Linked DNA regions of Homo sapiens: regions 1, 2, 3, 4 and 5 are each linked to region 6. The links are contacts of gene promoters, found by promoter capture Hi-C in blood cells and fetal thymus (Javierre and others, 2016). All regions are on one chromosome and are shown on one strand. The core of a region is centred on a gene start or on the middle of the fragment in contact, and the rest is flanking DNA. Distances in the headings are between cores, read along the strand shown.

Evidence for each region. Contacts are between HindIII fragments. The CHiCAGO score rates a contact against its expected background, and 5 or more counts as called.
Region 1: a contact is called between a fragment that was not itself captured here and the fragment with the promoter of PTPRG in region 6, in 1 of 17 cell types (endothelial precursors). The highest score is 5.8, in endothelial precursors.
Region 2: a fragment that was not itself captured here is called in contact with the fragment with the promoter of PTPRG in region 6 in 1 of 17 cell types (endothelial precursors); the score reaches 6.3 in endothelial precursors.
Region 3: a contact is called between a fragment that was not itself captured here and the fragment with the promoter of PTPRG in region 6, in 1 of 17 cell types (endothelial precursors). The highest score is 9.8, in endothelial precursors.
Region 4: a fragment that was not itself captured here is called in contact with the fragment with the promoter of PTPRG in region 6 in 1 of 17 cell types (endothelial precursors); the score reaches 5.4 in endothelial precursors.
Region 5: a fragment that was not itself captured here is called in contact with the fragment with the promoter of PTPRG in region 6 in 1 of 17 cell types (endothelial precursors); the score reaches 5.2 in endothelial precursors.

The regions. Positions count from the first base shown.
Region 1 is chr3:61,930,658-61,933,357 of GRCh38, reverse strand. All of the region lies in intron 2 of PTPRG (protein tyrosine phosphatase receptor type G), which reads right to left. Among named protein-coding and RNA genes, the nearest start is that of PTPRG, 370 kb to the right of the region's middle. The HindIII fragment of the contact is 293 bases long and covers 1,146-1,438 here.
Region 2 is chr3:61,835,543-61,838,391 of GRCh38, reverse strand. All of the region lies in intron 2 of PTPRG (protein tyrosine phosphatase receptor type G), which reads right to left. Among named protein-coding and RNA genes, the nearest start is that of PTPRG, 280 kb to the right of the region's middle. The HindIII fragment of the contact is 3,948 bases long and covers 1-2,849 here.
Region 3 is chr3:61,851,576-61,854,503 of GRCh38, reverse strand. The region is part of intron 2 of PTPRG (protein tyrosine phosphatase receptor type G); the gene reads right to left. Among named protein-coding and RNA genes, the nearest start is that of PTPRG, 290 kb to the right of the region's middle. The HindIII fragment of the contact is 4,297 bases long and covers 1-2,928 here.
Region 4 is chr3:61,982,168-61,984,867 of GRCh38, reverse strand. The region is part of intron 2 of PTPRG (protein tyrosine phosphatase receptor type G); the gene reads right to left. Among named protein-coding and RNA genes, the nearest start is that of PTPRG-AS1, 340 kb to the left of the region's middle. The HindIII fragment of the contact is 1,608 bases long and covers 541-2,148 here.
Region 5 is chr3:61,951,501-61,954,200 of GRCh38, reverse strand. The region is part of intron 2 of PTPRG (protein tyrosine phosphatase receptor type G); the gene reads right to left. Among named protein-coding and RNA genes, the nearest start is that of PTPRG-AS1, 370 kb to the left of the region's middle. The HindIII fragment of the contact is 825 bases long and covers 1,007-1,831 here.
Region 6 is chr3:61,560,181-61,562,880 of GRCh38, reverse strand. PTPRG (protein tyrosine phosphatase receptor type G) reads right to left here and starts at 1,310. Exons shown (of 30, transcript NM_002841.4): 1 at 509-1,310. The coding sequence starts at 593. RefSeq lists an enhancer at 2,533-2,700. The HindIII fragment of the contact is 7,216 bases long and covers 1-2,700 here.

The DNA of each region.
Region 1 (2,700 bases), core at 43-2,542, 370 kb before region 6:
AGTACAATTAATAGTTGAGAGCAAAAAAGAATAAAAAAGATCTCTGCCATCACAGATCAGCACTCTTACTGCAGAGGGGACAAAATCGTATCTCAGCATCATTTTGATTCACCACCAGGTTTTTAGGATTTTGTTACTACTTTTTAACCTGAAGTTGAAAAGAGAAATGTACCTTTCCACATAGACCCCAGCTCCACTATTTCCTACTGTCTTTTACCTTTTTGTTTTGCATATTTATGCTTTCTGAGGAACTCCAACAGACATTTGCTTTGGGGACCCCAATCACAGGATCGCAGCAGAGGCTGTGCTCAGTTTTGCTTGTCTGACCACAAATTCTCAGCCATATGGGTTTCAGACAGCCAATTTAACCATTTTGGACTTTTTAGCTAAAAGTGAAGTAGCAAGTGGGGGGTTTCATTCATTTATTCTAGCCCCAGTCTTGGTCCAGATTAGTCTTCCTCAAGGCTCTGCGGCACTGCCTGCCTCCCATGAAATACTGAGACAAGGAGAACACGAGAATGCTGCGCCTGAAAAACCCATAAGGGAAAGCCAATCAAGATCAAAGCAACTGTGAGAGAAACTGAATTGTTTCTGACCAAGATTTTGGTGGTGGTGGTTACAAGTTTTGAGTCAAAAGACATGGGTTCAAAACCCACCTTTTGCCCTTACTGTGCAATTCTGCCAAGTGTCATGACCTCTCTGGGCTTCCATGCCCTCAGCTGTGAAGTGAGAATATAATGCACTACAATGCTAGCTTGAAGACTTGCTGTGATAATGCAAATGAAAGCATGAAAACAGCGCCTTGCACACAGTAAGAACTCAGCAAGTGACCGTATTAGAGGTTTTTATATTCGACCCTTTTAAAGGCTAGTGTCAAAGGTACTTGGTCAGCTCATGTGGGGAAGCTTATAATATATTTAAGTATTCATAGTCTCCTACATGTTCCCCCTGGCTAAGACGCCTGAGGCTGCTAGAAATAATCACACTATTTGTGATCCTATGTTTATGCAACAGAAATGAAATGGAATTTTATGGTCTGTTGTGTTCAACACCGATGCCCACATTGGGATAATTCCATGCAGTGCTGCATTACAAGAATCTATGTAATATCCAATCCAAAGATGCAGCTCTCAGGTCACAAAGCTTTACCAAACCATTGGCTTCAGAAAGGAGCTAGTTGGTCCCACACCTGCAGACCCCATCTGACACACACTTAGTGGTAGATATATAATTGACCTGGAGAGTAAATCTAAGCTAATTCATTTTTTAAAAGCAAACAGATTTTGGCAGGGGAAAATATTGTTAGCAAAAAACATGTTTTAAATAGTAAAAAAATAAAAAATGAAAATACAAATGATGAATGTCATGAGTACAATAAAGGTTGACCATTCCTAAGAAAGGAAGACAACATAGAAGAGCAATGTTTCAACCAGAAGCTTCAAAAACTTTAGGACCAAAGGTCTGGCTTTGGAGCTAAGAACAGAAACACGATTTTGTTATTAAACATGAGAGTTTGTCATAACATCCACTCAACAAATAACATGGATCAGACAATGAAAAATGATAATATGGTCATCATCCTTGAATGAATCTCCTGGTGTTTTTGTTTTTGTTTTTGTTTTGAGGGGAATGGAGGTGGTTGGATATTCTTTGAAGCCACCAGAAAGTAAACAACATAGACTCAGTTGTGCGTTTGATCATGTTAGATCATAAACTTAAATTAGTAAAGTCAAGGTTAGAAGAGGGTGGGAAGGCAGCTCTAAGAGGACACGGGGTCTTGACTTGTGTAAGAGCAGTAACCCATTTGGGCCCGGGACACACAGTCCCTCGCCAGCAGATCCAGTGAGGTTAGCTTAGCTCCGGAGGCAGCACGGGTAACGTGGCCATGACTTAGTAAGGGAAGAATCAAAAAAGACTGTGGACATACCACTACCACACATGAAACAGAAGAGCAGTGTGTCTGTGCCAACATTATTCTATTTACCAAATATCATCAAGCAGGATTCCAGAAAAACGGCAGCAAAGTAACTTGGAGTTAGCCACAACAAGTAATAAACCTTTAAGCAGAACTGTTGAGGGTGAAAATGCGCTCAACATCGCAAAACCTTCCAGAGCCTTCCAGGCACAGGTAGCACAGAACAAGAATGCAAATCAGAACAGAGCAAAGTGGCCCAGCAGTGAGTGCTGCAGAAGCAAAATGAGCAAAAGCAAACAGAGAAGATCAGGTTGGGGAGGCTGCAGGAACCACAGCACATGGCCCACGGGCAGGAAGGAGCTTTGGGCCCTTCTAAGCAATGAATTAGGCGCTGCACTCTGTCACCCAGGCTGGACTGCAGTGGCGTGATCTCAGCTCACTGCAACCTCTGCCTCCCAGGTTCAAGTGATTCTTCTGCTTCCCGAGTAGCTGGGACTACAGGTGCGCCACCATGCCCGGCTAATTTCTGTATTTTGTATTTTTTAGTAGAGATGGGGTTTCACCATATTGGCCAGGCTGGTCTCGAACTCCTGACCTCGTGATGATCCACCGGCCTCGGCCTCCCAAAGTGCTAGGATTACAAGCATGAGCCACTGCGCCTGGCCGCACTGCCTTCTTTTACGTGCTCTCCTTTACAGTGGTTCGACAGCATAATTACCTATATTATTTCTCTAACTATAATTGTAATTTTGGAACACCCATAGAGGATGCCACAATGACGCTTG
Region 2 (2,849 bases), core at 203-2,702, 280 kb before region 6:
AAAGGGACCTTTCAAAGGGAAAAGAAACTATATAAACCTGTCTAGTTTTGGTGGCCTAAGTCTCCAGTCAGGCCCAACTTCTAGGGTTAATTATTTGAAACCAAAAACGATTCTTCAACTGATTTCAGGTAGATAACCCAACAGCACAACCTTCCCCATTTAACTATTTCTCACATACTGAGTTCAGGACAATAATTCTGAGCACCTTCACCACTTGTCCTAGAAACCAGCTTTTAGGCCCAGTTCCCTCCCATTCACCATCTGAAATCTCAGGGCAGTTGTTTAACCATCCCGGTGTTGTGAACTTAATTGTGCCTCCCCTGCAACATTCATATGTTGAAGCCCTCACAGGGCTGTATTTGGAGACAGGGTTTTTAAAGGGGTGAATAAGGTTAAATGTGGGCAAAAGTGTCGGGGGCCTGATCCATTAAGGCTGATGTCCCTGTAAGAGGAAGAAGAAAGACAGGGAAGGCCATGTGAAGACACACAGAGAAGGTGGCCATCTCCAAACCAAGGGGAGAGGCCTCAGAAGAAAGCAAACTTGCAATACACTGATATTTGACTGGCAGCCTCCTGCACTGTAAGAAAGCAAATTTCTGTTAAGTCACCCAGTTTGTGGTGTTATAGCTGCCCTAATGGACTAATACATCTGGTTTCAATGTCTTCACTTATTTTCAATAATCCCTCAAAATTGATCAGTGAAAGCACCCTCAAGTGAAAAATATGGTACATGTGTACGTGTACAGACATTCCTCATCCCCTTCCTTCACCTCAAACACAAAAATCCAGGCTAAAACCTTGCTATTGTTCAATCAATGCTGCTGATCCGCTCTTGTCTATGACGTACTATTCAGGCTGCACCTCCGTATTCAGCCTTTAATAGTCTAGTACCCCCTGCATGCCGAACATTCAGCAAGACATGGGCAAACAGGAGCCCTGCTTGTGACTCAACTTCCAGTTACTTTACTGTATCCCACATTTTAGGAGATATTACTGGGTAACTGTCAAAAGGTCAAGATCTAAAGATGAAAAAGCTGGATTCAGGTTGGGTGCGGTGGCTCACACCTGTGAATCCCAGCACTTTGGGTGGCTGTGGCAGGCAGATCACTTGAGGTCAGGAGTTCGAGACCAGCCTGGCCAACATGGCAAAACACTGTCTCTACTAAAAATACAAAAATTAACCAGGTCCAGTGGTTCACACCTATAATCCCAACACTTTGGGAGGCCAAGACAGGCGGATCACCTGAGGTCAGGAGTACAAGACCAGAGTGGCCAATATGATAAAACCCATCTTTACAAAAATACAAAAATTGGCCGGGCATGATGATGGGTGCCTACCTGTAATCCCAGCTACTCTGGGGGGTGAGACAGGAGAATCGCTTTAACCCAGGAGGTGAAGGCTGCAGTAAGCCGAGATTGTGCCATTGCACTCCAGCCTGGGCGACTGAGCAAGACTCCATCTCAAAAGAAAAAAAAAAAATCAGCCAGGCCTGGTGGCGTGTGCCTGTAGTCCCAGCTACTAGGGAGGCTGACGCAGGAGAACTGCTTGAACCCGGGAGGCAGAGGTTGCAGTGAGCCGAGATTGTGCCATTGCACTCCAGCCTGGGTGACAGACAGAGACTCCGTCTGAAAAAAACAAATAAAAAAACAAAAAACAACAACAACAACAAAAAAACTGGTTTCAAACAGAACTTCACCCATTTACAAACTGCATCATCTTCAGCAAGTTATTAAAACTTACTGCACCTCTATTTCCTCAACTACAAAGTGATGGCAATAGATATTATTATCTGATATTCCTAGTTCAGGCCTTGATGTCAATAATGTCTGAGAGGCATTATGCAAAGTACCCGGAAGGTAGTAAGAGCATAGTAAATAGTAGCTGCTATATTTTATTATCACTATCCCTAAGTAAAGCTGGCCTCCAGGAGACAGGAAAGGCTAGTGTCTTGTTTGGAACTGAGCCTACCATCTTTGTAGATCAACACCAGGCCTCAAAATGTTACAACTTTAAACTGCATTACTTCAACCACTTTCAAGCACTTACTATGTACTACACACTCAGAAAACAATGAGGAAGGTGAGGGGTACATGAATCAGAGAGGTCAGAGGGTAGTGGATGAACAGAAAAGGGCTATGTTCTATAACAAAGGCCTAAACAAAGAACAATGGTTTGGAAAGAGAAGAGACAAGGAAGGTAAAGACTTACCAGTGATTCCTACACATAGCTGTAAGAACAAAGAGCAGGCCTACAAATATCCAAAGAGCCATTAATCTGCAGTGGGGTTCAGGTGTGTGTGTGTGTATATATATATATATTTTTTTTTTTGGTGGGGGGGGGCGCGGGGGGTGAGACGGAGATTTACTCTTGTTGCCCAGGCTGGAGTGCAATGGCGCGATCTTAGCTCACCGCATCCTCCACCTCCCAGCTTCAAGCAATTCTCCTGCCTTAGCCTCCCAAGTAGCTGGAATTACAGGCATGTGCCACCATGCCTGGCTAATTTTGCATTTTTAACAGAGATGGGGTTTCACCATGTTGCCCAGGCTGATCTCGAACTCCTGACCTCTCAGGTGATCCACCCACCTCGGCCTCCCAAAGTGCTGGGATTACAGGTGTGAGCCACTGTGCCCGGCCCACGTGTGTATATTTTAACATATGCCCAAAGTGATCCTGATAAAAAGGTTGGTTTAAGAACCACTGATGTGACACTTCAGACTACCAACAAGGCCAGGCCATTAAGGACTTAAATAGCAGGAACGGGCTGGGCGTGGTGGTTCATGCCTATAATCCCAGCACTTTGGGAGGCTGAGGTGGCTGGATCACAAGGTCAAGAGTTCGAGCCCAGCCT
Region 3 (2,928 bases), core at 176-2,675, 290 kb before region 6:
GACCTTAGGAGAACAAACAAAATGGGGTACATAGTTGCAGGAAGGAGAAACAGAGTAAATAGAGAAGACAGAGGAATCAATTTTTTGCCAGGTACTTTACCTGTCTTCCCTTATTAATTTCTCACAGCCTATAGATGAGAATAGGTGAAATCAGACCTATTTTACAGATAAGAAACCGAGGCTCAATGTTTTTATAATTATGGTGAAAACTCAGGGCACTGGTTTAAAGTGAAACCATCCCACCTCAAAGTGGCCTAAACAAAAGAAAACCAAAGGGCAAGGAGGTTATTGTCTCACGTAACTATTCAGGGGGTACATCTGTTGTGCATGTGTGTAGTACTGCTACCTTCTAGCAGCACAGGGCTGCTGTTCTCTCAAGAGATCTCATTCTCTTGCTGTCAACTCAGTTCTGCATTCCAGTGCTGGCTGCACTCTCAAACAGGCCTTTCTCTTTTGAATGGCCACCGGTTCCTCTGAGCTTATGTTCTGAAAAGCACAGAAGCCTCAGCACAGGAAGGACTTTGATGTGGCCATTTGAAGTAAAGCACAGGAGACTTTCATTAGATGGCCATGGCCACATATTCATCTCCAATCCAATCAAAGCAATCTTAACAACCTAAATGACCAGACCTGGGTCATGTGTCCATTCCTAGAGCCCAGAGAAGGAAAACAGCTCACCCCAGAACACATCAACTTGGAGGAGAAAACAAAGGGGTCACAGTGAATTCCCCAAAAGGAATATTTTATGTAAAGACTTTCCTAGCACTCTGCATCTTAGTTGTCATATGCTGTGTAACTAAATCCCCCAAAACTCACTAAGTTAGAACATCAATAAACATTTATTATCTGTCACCATCTCTATAGGTCAGGAATGTAGCAATGGCTTAGCTGTGCAGTTCTGAAACAAGTTTTCTAAATGAGATTGCAGTCAAGATGTCAGCTGGGTCAGCAGTTATCTGAGGCTTAACATGGACTGGAGGATCCATTTCCTAAGTGGTTCAATCACATGGCCAGCAAAATGGTACCAGCTGTTGGTGGAGCCTCAGTTCTTCCCCAGCGTTCTAATGATATTGGAGTGAGCTTGTTCCAAAGGAAACAATCAATAGTAAGCCCAAAGGCAGAAGCCGCAATTCCTTTACGGCCTGGTCTTAAGAAGTCACACAGTGTCACCTCTGCCATCGTCAACTGATCACACAAACCAGCTCTCTTTGTTTAACAAGACTAAAAAAGGGTGTGAATACCTGGAAGTGGGGATTATGGGGGCCATTCTGAACCTCGCACACACCTTCTCTAAAATTTCCATTTTCTCAAACCCCCCTTCCCTGCTTTAATGTTTTCTATTTAGAACTTATCATCATACAACATACTTCTTACTCTTTGTCTGTTTCCCACAGTAGAACGTAAGCTCCGCAAGGACAAGCATGTTTGTATGCTTTGGTCACTATCCTATCCCCTGCATGTAACACAACAGCTGTTACAAAGAAATCATTCAATAAATGGAATTTAGATGAACAGATGCAAAGAGGAAGGGACATGGATGTCAGGTAGGCAGTGGCAATCAATGTCTACTTTACTCATAAAGGTGAGGTCTTTGAGACGTCCAGCTTTTAGGACCTTTGCAAGTCCATGCATGTATGTCCATACGCGTTACTGAGATAACATTTCTAAAATAGGCCCCTGGAAACAAGAATAAATCAGGCAATTTTCATAAGGCAAACTGTTGCATGGTGCTTTCACACATGGCCCTCAAAGCTCAGGATCTCCATAGCCACCGTGAACTTGACAAAGACATAGGCACCATAATACAAAGACCACAAAGTAACCTAGAAATACAGAGTCTCCAATTCTATCTTGATTCTGCCTCTAAACCAAAGACTCATCAATTTAACTCTCTGGGACTCAGCTTCCATGTTCGTAAGAAACACAATATTTATCAGTAAGACCTCATCCCAATTATAACGTCACTGAAGCTGGATGCTAACAGTATATGTCCATGGTTTTTAAAAAACTCTTCAGGTAAGAAAATCCGAAGTATGCAAGTAGGTTTGTCTAAACATAGATCTGTGTCTTACTGTAAAATTCCATTTGTGAATTGTTATTCCAAGTACTGGACCCACCTTATAATCACTGTATAACATGCTTGAAATATAATTGTCATGACATATTCTCCAGAAAGGTCAAAATAATCCTTATTACAACTTTATAACTGACCATAAAAAGAGAAAGTCAGACCCCATCCTTCTTGGAAAGCACAGCAAACAAACAAAAATGTCTCCTTTTCAAAGATTATGTTTAGTGAAGGACAGACGCAAAGAGAGAGAAAAGTAGTATCAGCTAATACTGTATCCAAACACCTTAAAAAGAAATTAACAAAAATGGGTTTATTAAACTCCCTAAAATCTAGTTCCAAAAGAACTCAAAATATTTTACCATCAACCAAAAATACAGCCCCAATTGTATCAACATTGTATTAGTTATCTATTGCTGCATAAGAGATTACCTCAAAATCTAGTGGCCTAAAACCACTAATATTAACCTCATCACAGTTTCTGAGGGTCAGCCAATCTAGATAGCTATAATCATAAGACACTGGAAAATTACGTGACTCCAATTTAAAATGGCTGTTTAACATGAAAACTACTTTTTGAACTACCCCTTCTGATTTTTCACCTCCACAATTATGCTACTGAAGGCAAAGAGAAGAAACTGATTGTAGCAGCTGTACTAGAACCTCAATCAGAATATGTCTCTCTCATTACCAATAAGTAACAACAAACCCATCAAGAAAAGTCTAATAATTCCAAGACTCCTCATGACAATTCTCAGGCATTTTAAAATTTAAATGTGCTTTAAATGTTAAGTGTACTTCACCCTAATCTAATTCTATAAAAATAGATACCTGATTCAAACAACCCATTTTTCCACCAT
Region 4 (2,700 bases), core at 95-2,594, 420 kb before region 6:
GACAAACACTCCTCAAAAGTGTCAAGGTCATGAGAAAGACTAAAACACTGTCAGAGATCAGAGAAGATTAAGGAGACACAGACAATAAATAGAATGTGGTGCTCTAGATTGAATGGTGGAATCAAAAACAAAAATTAATGGAAAAACTCATGAGCTCTGAGTAAAGTTTGGTGCTCAGTTAATAGTAAACACACCCATGTTGGGTTCCTAGTAGGTCCTTGTCAAAAGGTCATTCTTTTGTGGCTACTCTGACAATGAAATGAAGAAATTATGGAGCAAACTGCATAGAAGCCAAGTAAAATATAAGTTGTGTTAAATAAGTTAAATTTTACTAACCAGGTTTTACTGGATTTACTGGTATGCACTTAGGCCGTGTCTATGGCATGATAGATGAGGGAGATGGGCACTGATTTATGGGTAATACTGGGATGACTGTCATATTCTTTTTGGATAAATGGAGTCTGCAAACACAAAAGACGAAGGAAACAAGAGACTACGGTAAAGAAAATAATCAAGTTCATGGGTGATATTATTTAAGCTTATATAAAAACCTTATATAAAGTTGGAGAAATTCAGTTTTTAAAGCTGTCATTAAGAAAAACATCATTAGCTTAACCTATAGCTCATTTCTGCATTAAAATAATCCACTTCTACCTCCTTAGTGTGCCATTCACAAGTCACTGTATTTTTCTCATTTTGAGATGTTACAATTCAGTAGACTAGCATCAGGAAGACATATTTCCACAGTAGGGAGAATAAATCACACAATTGGAGATTAATTCCAACTGGTCTGTTTAAGGCAGATAGAATTCCTCACATGAAAATAATGGCAAATACTGTAAATCTGGGCTTGAATCTGAGACTTCACTTCATACTCAGTTTCTTTAAGGCAGAGTTAGCCCAAAGAACTTGGTCGACACATATAAATTTTAAATCAATGCTAGTTAATTCTATTCAAACAAATATCATATAAAAATCTGAGAGAAACACCTTAATGTTGCCCTACCATCAGCCCCAGCAATACTACTTGAAAAGTCCAAATAAGGACAAATAAAACTGGTCAACAACAAGAATTTTCTACAATTTAAGCAAACTGTCTCACTTCAGTATAGTTCTCTGTTAATAACTGACCTAAGATAAAAGTTGTATGAGCATAGAAATCATACTTTTGTCTAAAAGCAAGGAATTTCACATACCTATATATGATTCATGTTCCAAACAGTGGTTTCTTTAAATACCTAAGAGGTTCTTTGCTGAAAATAAGCATGTACCTTGAATTTATTTTACCACAATAGATCCAAATAATGGTTCCTATTCACTAATGAAAAGCCATTAAAAATAATGAATTCTGTCTAAATCTAATTAAAAACAAAACTAATATACATGTTATGTGCTGTTTCTAGTCAAATATGCTTATTAATGCCTCTCTCAATAAACTTATATTACAAATATTACCTGAATCCAGGCTTATTACTCTGCATTTTGTTGTCTACTTTTAACCAATAGCAACAATCCAAAAATATGTGTATCATTTTTACCTATTATAATTAATGCTTTTTATCCGAAATCGAATACACAGGTTTAAATTATTCCATGTTTTAATTAAAATCTTTATGGGATTCTGATTACAATTCTTTTGCATTCTCCAGTACTAATAGCTTAATTACTTCTTGTGCATTTATTGTTTGTGTGTACACGAAAAATGGAAAAAGTCTTAAAAGGCATGCATATTACTGCTTGCCACTATTTTTACTTTATTCATATTCAGTTATAAAGCTGCTCAACTTTGTTGATAGAAATATTCTAAATTTTAAACCAGTTAAGAAAATATAAAGTTACTTTGCAAATAATGAAATACACATTTTTTGGTTTTAAATTTAAGGTGTAAAAACTGCAGTACTCCATTTCATATCAATGGTGTGCTTAAAGAAAACTATCAACAACTAACCATAATACCAGAAGTAATATCAGACAATAACACCAGAAATAGAAACTAACTACTTTGTTCATTTTTTAATACCATTATCTGTCTAATTTCCCAGGGTGTCTATTTTAGGACTGGATGTTAAAACTATTTCAGGTAAAATTTCATTCAGTACCAATGCCTAAACTGGAGGTCCCAGACTCTAATCCTGATGGTAAAAAGCTTCTCTGGAGCCTGTTTTACTGTTCTGGAAAAGGAGGGTATTAAAAAGAGTAAAGATGGCAATAATGGCTACCTTTTAGTTCTGAGCCACAGACCTCTAGGCTGAGTAAAGGCTCAAAAGGAGTTGACTGATTAGTGATGCCCGCATGGGTGTATAATATGACATTATTAGAGTGCAAACCATGAATATGCATGCCATCCACACACTGCAAGATTCTGAAGGTCCTTTAAAGACTTAAAAGTCTTTGACCTATGCATGTTTAGGTGTATCTGGGATTTAAAAGTTATATCTTTCAAGTTGAATCCACCCCACATCCAAACATTCATTAAAAATTTCTACCAATAATTGGGATCATTTATTCACCCCAAACCTAACTAGGCTGACTTAAAGTTGTACCAGCTTTATTCCTGCTTCTCATAGATACAACAGGAAACTGGCTTCAACAAGTATCTGAGATACTAACAAAGTTATCACAATTCTTACTAGCCAATGCCAAACATCTTAAGTGTTTATAAAATGGAGATGAGTTCGTTCCAGACCTGAAGTTTTCAAC
Region 5 (2,700 bases), core at 170-2,669, 390 kb before region 6:
CAGTAAGGAACCAGTATGTTTGGTGGAGGCGGGAAGTTGGGCAGGGAAGGGATTTAGGTGCTGAAGTCAGCAAGTAACATGAAACCAAGCAGGGCATCGTCAAAATTACTCTCAAGAAATCTCTAGGAAAACAAACTGGAAGACCAATGAGTCTGTCCTCTCCCCAGATTTCCAATCCAACACTCTTCATCCAAGGGAGTACTACATATTTGCAGCTGGTTTGCAACTTAGTCTTATGTAGGAAGTAGATGTATCCTTAAATTCAGAATCATGTGACAAAGTCACTATAGGAACAGGTCAAAGCATCTGAAGAGAGCAGCAGATTGTACAGCAGCAGAAAATACACTCCCTTGTATTTTCTCTGGAGCATTTGTGCTTTAGAGTAGAACTTCTTACTCTACATACACAGAAGGGTTTTTGTTTCCTTCCCCTGGCCCTCACAGAGTGTAGTTTAGTATGACTGACGTGCTGAAAGAATGGAAGGTGCATCTCCATCACCCTTCTACATTGGAGAAGAAAATGCAGCAGTGAGCCTTGGGGCTAGAAATTATGTTAATTAGACAAGCAGCAGGAAAGGAACCCAGCCTGTGGGAAGAGTCTCCCCTCCCCATAGAACCACCACAACAATCACATTTATTACACTGCTTAATTGCCATTGCAATATACAACCTTAATTTACTAGGGAGCCCGTAGGTAACCTTTAGAAGTGCTGCCCGGCATCCAGAAGTGCTCACGTTCCTAGAGGCACTGATACTAGGGGACCTGCCTAGGTTTTTAAATACCAAGGGACAAAGTCAATAATGGCGAAATTGACCAGCAATTCCTTTTTTCTAACCATTCCTTTTGCCTGCGTGCCTGTGTCAGTATCTAGTTTCTCTCTATTTTTGCCCCTTTCAAGCAATTCTTCATTGTCAGTAGCAGAGCAAGGGTGGGTGGGAGAAGAGTAAGGCTCTGACTTAGCTGGGGGCAAGAAAAGCCTCCTGAAGGAAGTGATTAAAGCTAAGCTTCTGAAACAGGAGCTAGAATTCAACCAGGTGAAGCAGGTTGGGAGGAGGGAAAGCGTTTCTGAGTAGAGACAGCAGTAGGTGTAGGGAAAATTGTGGGCTTGACCTGGGGCACGGTAAGTAGAAAGGGCGAGAAATTAAGAAAAGTCATTGCTGGATCCTAGGATGTATCCTGAGACCTATTGGAAGCCACAAAAATGGTCCCAGAATAGTTACTGACACAGGAGTGATACATTCATATTCCCATTTTTAAAGGTTCCTCCAGATTTTCTGTGTAGACAACAGTGGGTCACAAGAGGGTAAACTTGAAGCGATGTTCTACAGCTTCCACAGAAGGCAAGAGATTACTATTTAGTGGTGGCAGTGAGTAGGGGAGAAAATATGGATTCAAGTGACACTGATAGGAGCTGGCTGATGATTAATTGTAGACGGAGGAAGACAGACATCCCAGGTTTGAGGCTAGGGCAAATGGATTATGTTTCTGCCACTCCTGGGGACAGAAAGGACTGAATGAGGAACAGGTTTAAAGGTAAGGAAGCAGAAATGGGCAGAGATACTGAACTTGGTTTTAAGGTGTCCTGAGAACTCCGGCGTCAAGGAGGAAGTAGGTGATAAGGGCTTTAATCTCAAAAGGGAGATTTCAGCCAGAAATATCAATTTGAGCATGCTCTTGGAATAGATGGTAATTTTAGCCATTATGAAGTTGCCTGGGGAGACCGTGTACAGAGTGAGAAGAGAAGGGGCCTGCAGATAGATCCTTAGAGGAATTCCAACAGTTAATGAATTTAATGAATGACAGTGGTTCAACCCCTTTATCATTCAAAGCTTTGGTGTGGATAAAATAATGGCTTGTCACTCCCAGCTCACAAACCTGTAAAGAGTTCCCTAACACTGCTTAAAGCAAAATTGCCCCCAAGAACTTCAAAATCCTGGCTTACAGCACAGGCACTAAAGTGGTCCTAACAGTCAGTGGTGGCTCCCAGGGCCCCAGGTTTGCTAAACATGCACTGCCTCCACATATGAGGTCTGAGGAAGACTGGGATTCTGATACTGTCTTTTTTTTTTTTTTTTTTTTTTTCTGAGGTGGAGTGTCGATCTGTCGCCAGGCTGCAGTGCTGTGGCGTGATCTCAGCTCACTGCAACCTCCGACTCCCTGGTTCAAGTGATTCTCCTGCCTCAGCCTCCCAAGTCGCTGAGATTACAGGCACGCACCACCACACCCAGCTAATTTTTGTATTTTTAGTAAAGACAGGGTTTCCCCATGTTGGCCAGGATGGTCTTGATCTCCTGACCTCGTGATCTGCCCGCCTCGGCCTCCCAAAGTGCTGGGATTACAGGCGTGAGCCACCACGCCAGGCCGATTCTATCATTTTTAAAATTTGGGTTTGCGTTACTTGCTAATACCAGTCAGAAAAGAGCACTTCACAGAATCAAGTAACCCCATCAGCAACAGAGCACAGCCTCTCTGTACTTTGTAAAACAGTAGAAGTCAATTGTTGCCAAGAAGAAACCCTTGCACATTCCCCAAAAAACACTCTGTGTAGACTATCTCAGAACCAGACACGGAAACAAGCGCTGGAAATACACAGGAAATTAGGGGAGTCCTCTGCCCTCAAGGAGACTAGAGAGAGCAGATTGGGAGCCATCTTCCCACGAAATAATCCAGAACTAAATGTGTAAAGAATTCTTAGAACCA
Region 6 (2,700 bases), core at 61-2,560:
ACTTCCATTCCCCGAAACCTAGCCCTCCCAAAGGGATGGAGAACAGCAAAGCAAACCCCCACCTTCTGAGTTCCTTCAATACCCGCCAGAGCGAGGGGGCTCATCCCGGGCCCCCCAAACCCACAGAAGCATCCTTTCCATGGCCTCAGTCTCCCCAACCGCCCCACAACTCGAGTTCTCCCGATCGGCGACGAGTCAGCAAAGCAAGTCCCCCTTTCTCCCGATTCCAGCTCCCCAGGACCCCCAAAAGGGAGCGGGAGCAGACCCCCGCGTCCCCCAGCCCCCTCCCCGGCCAGCCCCTGCCTCCACCTTCCTCGACCACTAGCCTGCCTCCCTAAACATCATCCAAGCCAGCGGAGCAATCCTTTTCTCCTATCCGGGCGCCGGGCCACCCTCCACCCTCTCCAGGGTCTCCCGGACGGGCGCCGGAGCTCCGCGCCCAGGCGACAACTCCGCATCCCCAACGCGCGCCGGCCGGGGCCGCATCCCCTCGGCGGCCGGCACTCACCGGGGAAGCACACGACATAATGGAGCACGGAACTGGTGATTTTCAGGAACAAAATCCACCAACACGGTTCCAGTAACCTCCGCATGTCCGAAAACGCACATCGAAAAGAGGAAAGCAGGGAGGTAAACTTGTTGAATAAGTTCTTGCCTCCGTGCGAGCCTCCGCTAAGCCGGGGCGCTTCCCCGGCTCGCCCGCTCCACGGGCCCCCCGCGCTCGGCGGCCCGAGTCCCCTTGGAATCCGGGAAGCCGCCGAGCGCCCCCCGGAAAATCTCAAAAAGTGACCGGGAACGCAGAGCCACGCTGGGGACGATCCTCTCGGCGGAGAAAGGCTGCTTTCCGTTTAAAAAGGAGAGAGCCGATCGGGCAGGGCGCGGAGTCGGCGGCCGGCGGCGATGCCCCGGGCCTGGGGCAGGCAGGGACCGCGGGCGGCGGCGGCGAGCAGCCGAGGATCCCCAACTTGAGTCGGCAGCGCAGCACAGCCCGAGAGCCGGCGGGCGGCGGCGGGGCTGAGCGCGGCGCGGCGTCTCCGGGCTTCAGGCAGGCAGCTCCTTCCAGGGCCCCGGGAAGGAAGGAGGCATGTTTGCGAGAGGGGAAGGGGAGGGGAGAGGCAGGGGGAGCGGAGAGCCCCCCAAAATAGAAACGGCCGGAGGAAACGGAGGAAAACACAAAGGATCTCAGAGGGGCGCTGGGGCGAGGGCGCCTTCAGTCCATGCTCCTGAAAGTTGTGGCTCCGGCGCAGGCTGGGAAGGAACGAAGAGCGCGGGGCTGGAAACTGGCCATGCCTCCATACAGGAAGTAACATGTGAGCATGGATCCTGGCAGAGACTTTAAAGCCGGCGAGCGAAGGAGCGAGCGAACAGGGGGCGCGCGGTGGCGGCGGGGGCGCGCAGCCCGGGCCAGCTGGCGGCGGGCGCGCGCTCTCCGCGTTCTTAAAGCAGCCGCGCTTGGCTCCCGCCTTGCGCTGGGTCCCTCGGCTCTGCTCTCTCCGCGCGGCCTCTACTGGGACAGTTTGGGGACTGGGGGCGATTGTAGCCCGTGCGCGGAGAGAGGAGGGAGGCTGCCTTCTGGGGCCGGCTTGTTTTTTGCTGGATTCCCGTTGTTCGAGCTCTTAAAAGACGCCGCACGGTGCTCGGGTTTGGCGAGATCCTCCGCGCAGCTCGCGGATCCCGGACTTGAGGGGCCCCTCGCCCTGGCGAGGGGAAAGGGGGAGGGCGGACAGCTGCCTTTTTAAAGCGATGGGGTTTTCTGTTCGGCTTCACTGCCCTGGCATTTGCAGCGGTGAGGCTCACCGTCTGCGGCTCCTGTTCGCGCCTCCAACACAGCGCATTCCCCCGCCGGGAAACAAAGCCGAGCGGCCTTTGCACTCCGGCTACATTGAGATTTAATTTTTTTTTTTTTTCTTTTTCGGGCTTTCATTGGCCCAGTCCAAGGCTGGGGAAAGTGGGGGAGGGGAGGAATGTCGATCCCAGGATTGCGAAATCTAGCCCTTCCGAGCCCCGCATCCCCTTTCCCGGCGCCACGATGGATCGGTGGCGGAGTTTCCCCAACTCGCAGCTTCTCTGGAGAAGGTTCCCGCACCCCGGTTTGGCCGCGGGGAGGGCGCAGGAAGTGCGCCTCTTACACCCTGCAGGGTGAAAGCAGCGCCGCGGGGCCGGACTGATTTCCTGGCAGCTACCCGGGGAGCGGCTGCTTCTTTAGCAATCGGGGAGAGGCGTCCGGGGGAAATGGGAGGACTAGGCTTATCTGTAATGAGTTTTGTCCCTTGGCTCTCGGTAAGAAGATCTTTATCGCTTAGACTTCTAAGCGCCCTATTTTACATTCTTAACGCTGGGGCTAAAAGTGGGGGAGGCGGGCTTTCGAGTAAATGTGTAACTGAGCCAAGGTAATTAGCCGTTTGACATTTTTTGCCTAATTTTTCTGCCTGTGTTTCAAAGCGATCTTGACGTGGGATTGTTTTGTTTTGTTTTGAGACGGAGTCTCGCTCCGTCGCCCAGGCTGGAGTACAGTGGCTCGATTTCGGCTCACTACAACCTTCGCCTCCCGGGTTCGGGCGATTCTCCTGCCTCAGCCTCCCGAGTAGCTGGGACTACAGGCGCCCGCCACCACGCCCGGCTGATTATTTTTTTGGTGGTTTTTTTTGTTTGTTTTTTGTTTTATTTTGGTTTTTTTTGTAGAGGCGGGGTTTCACCGTT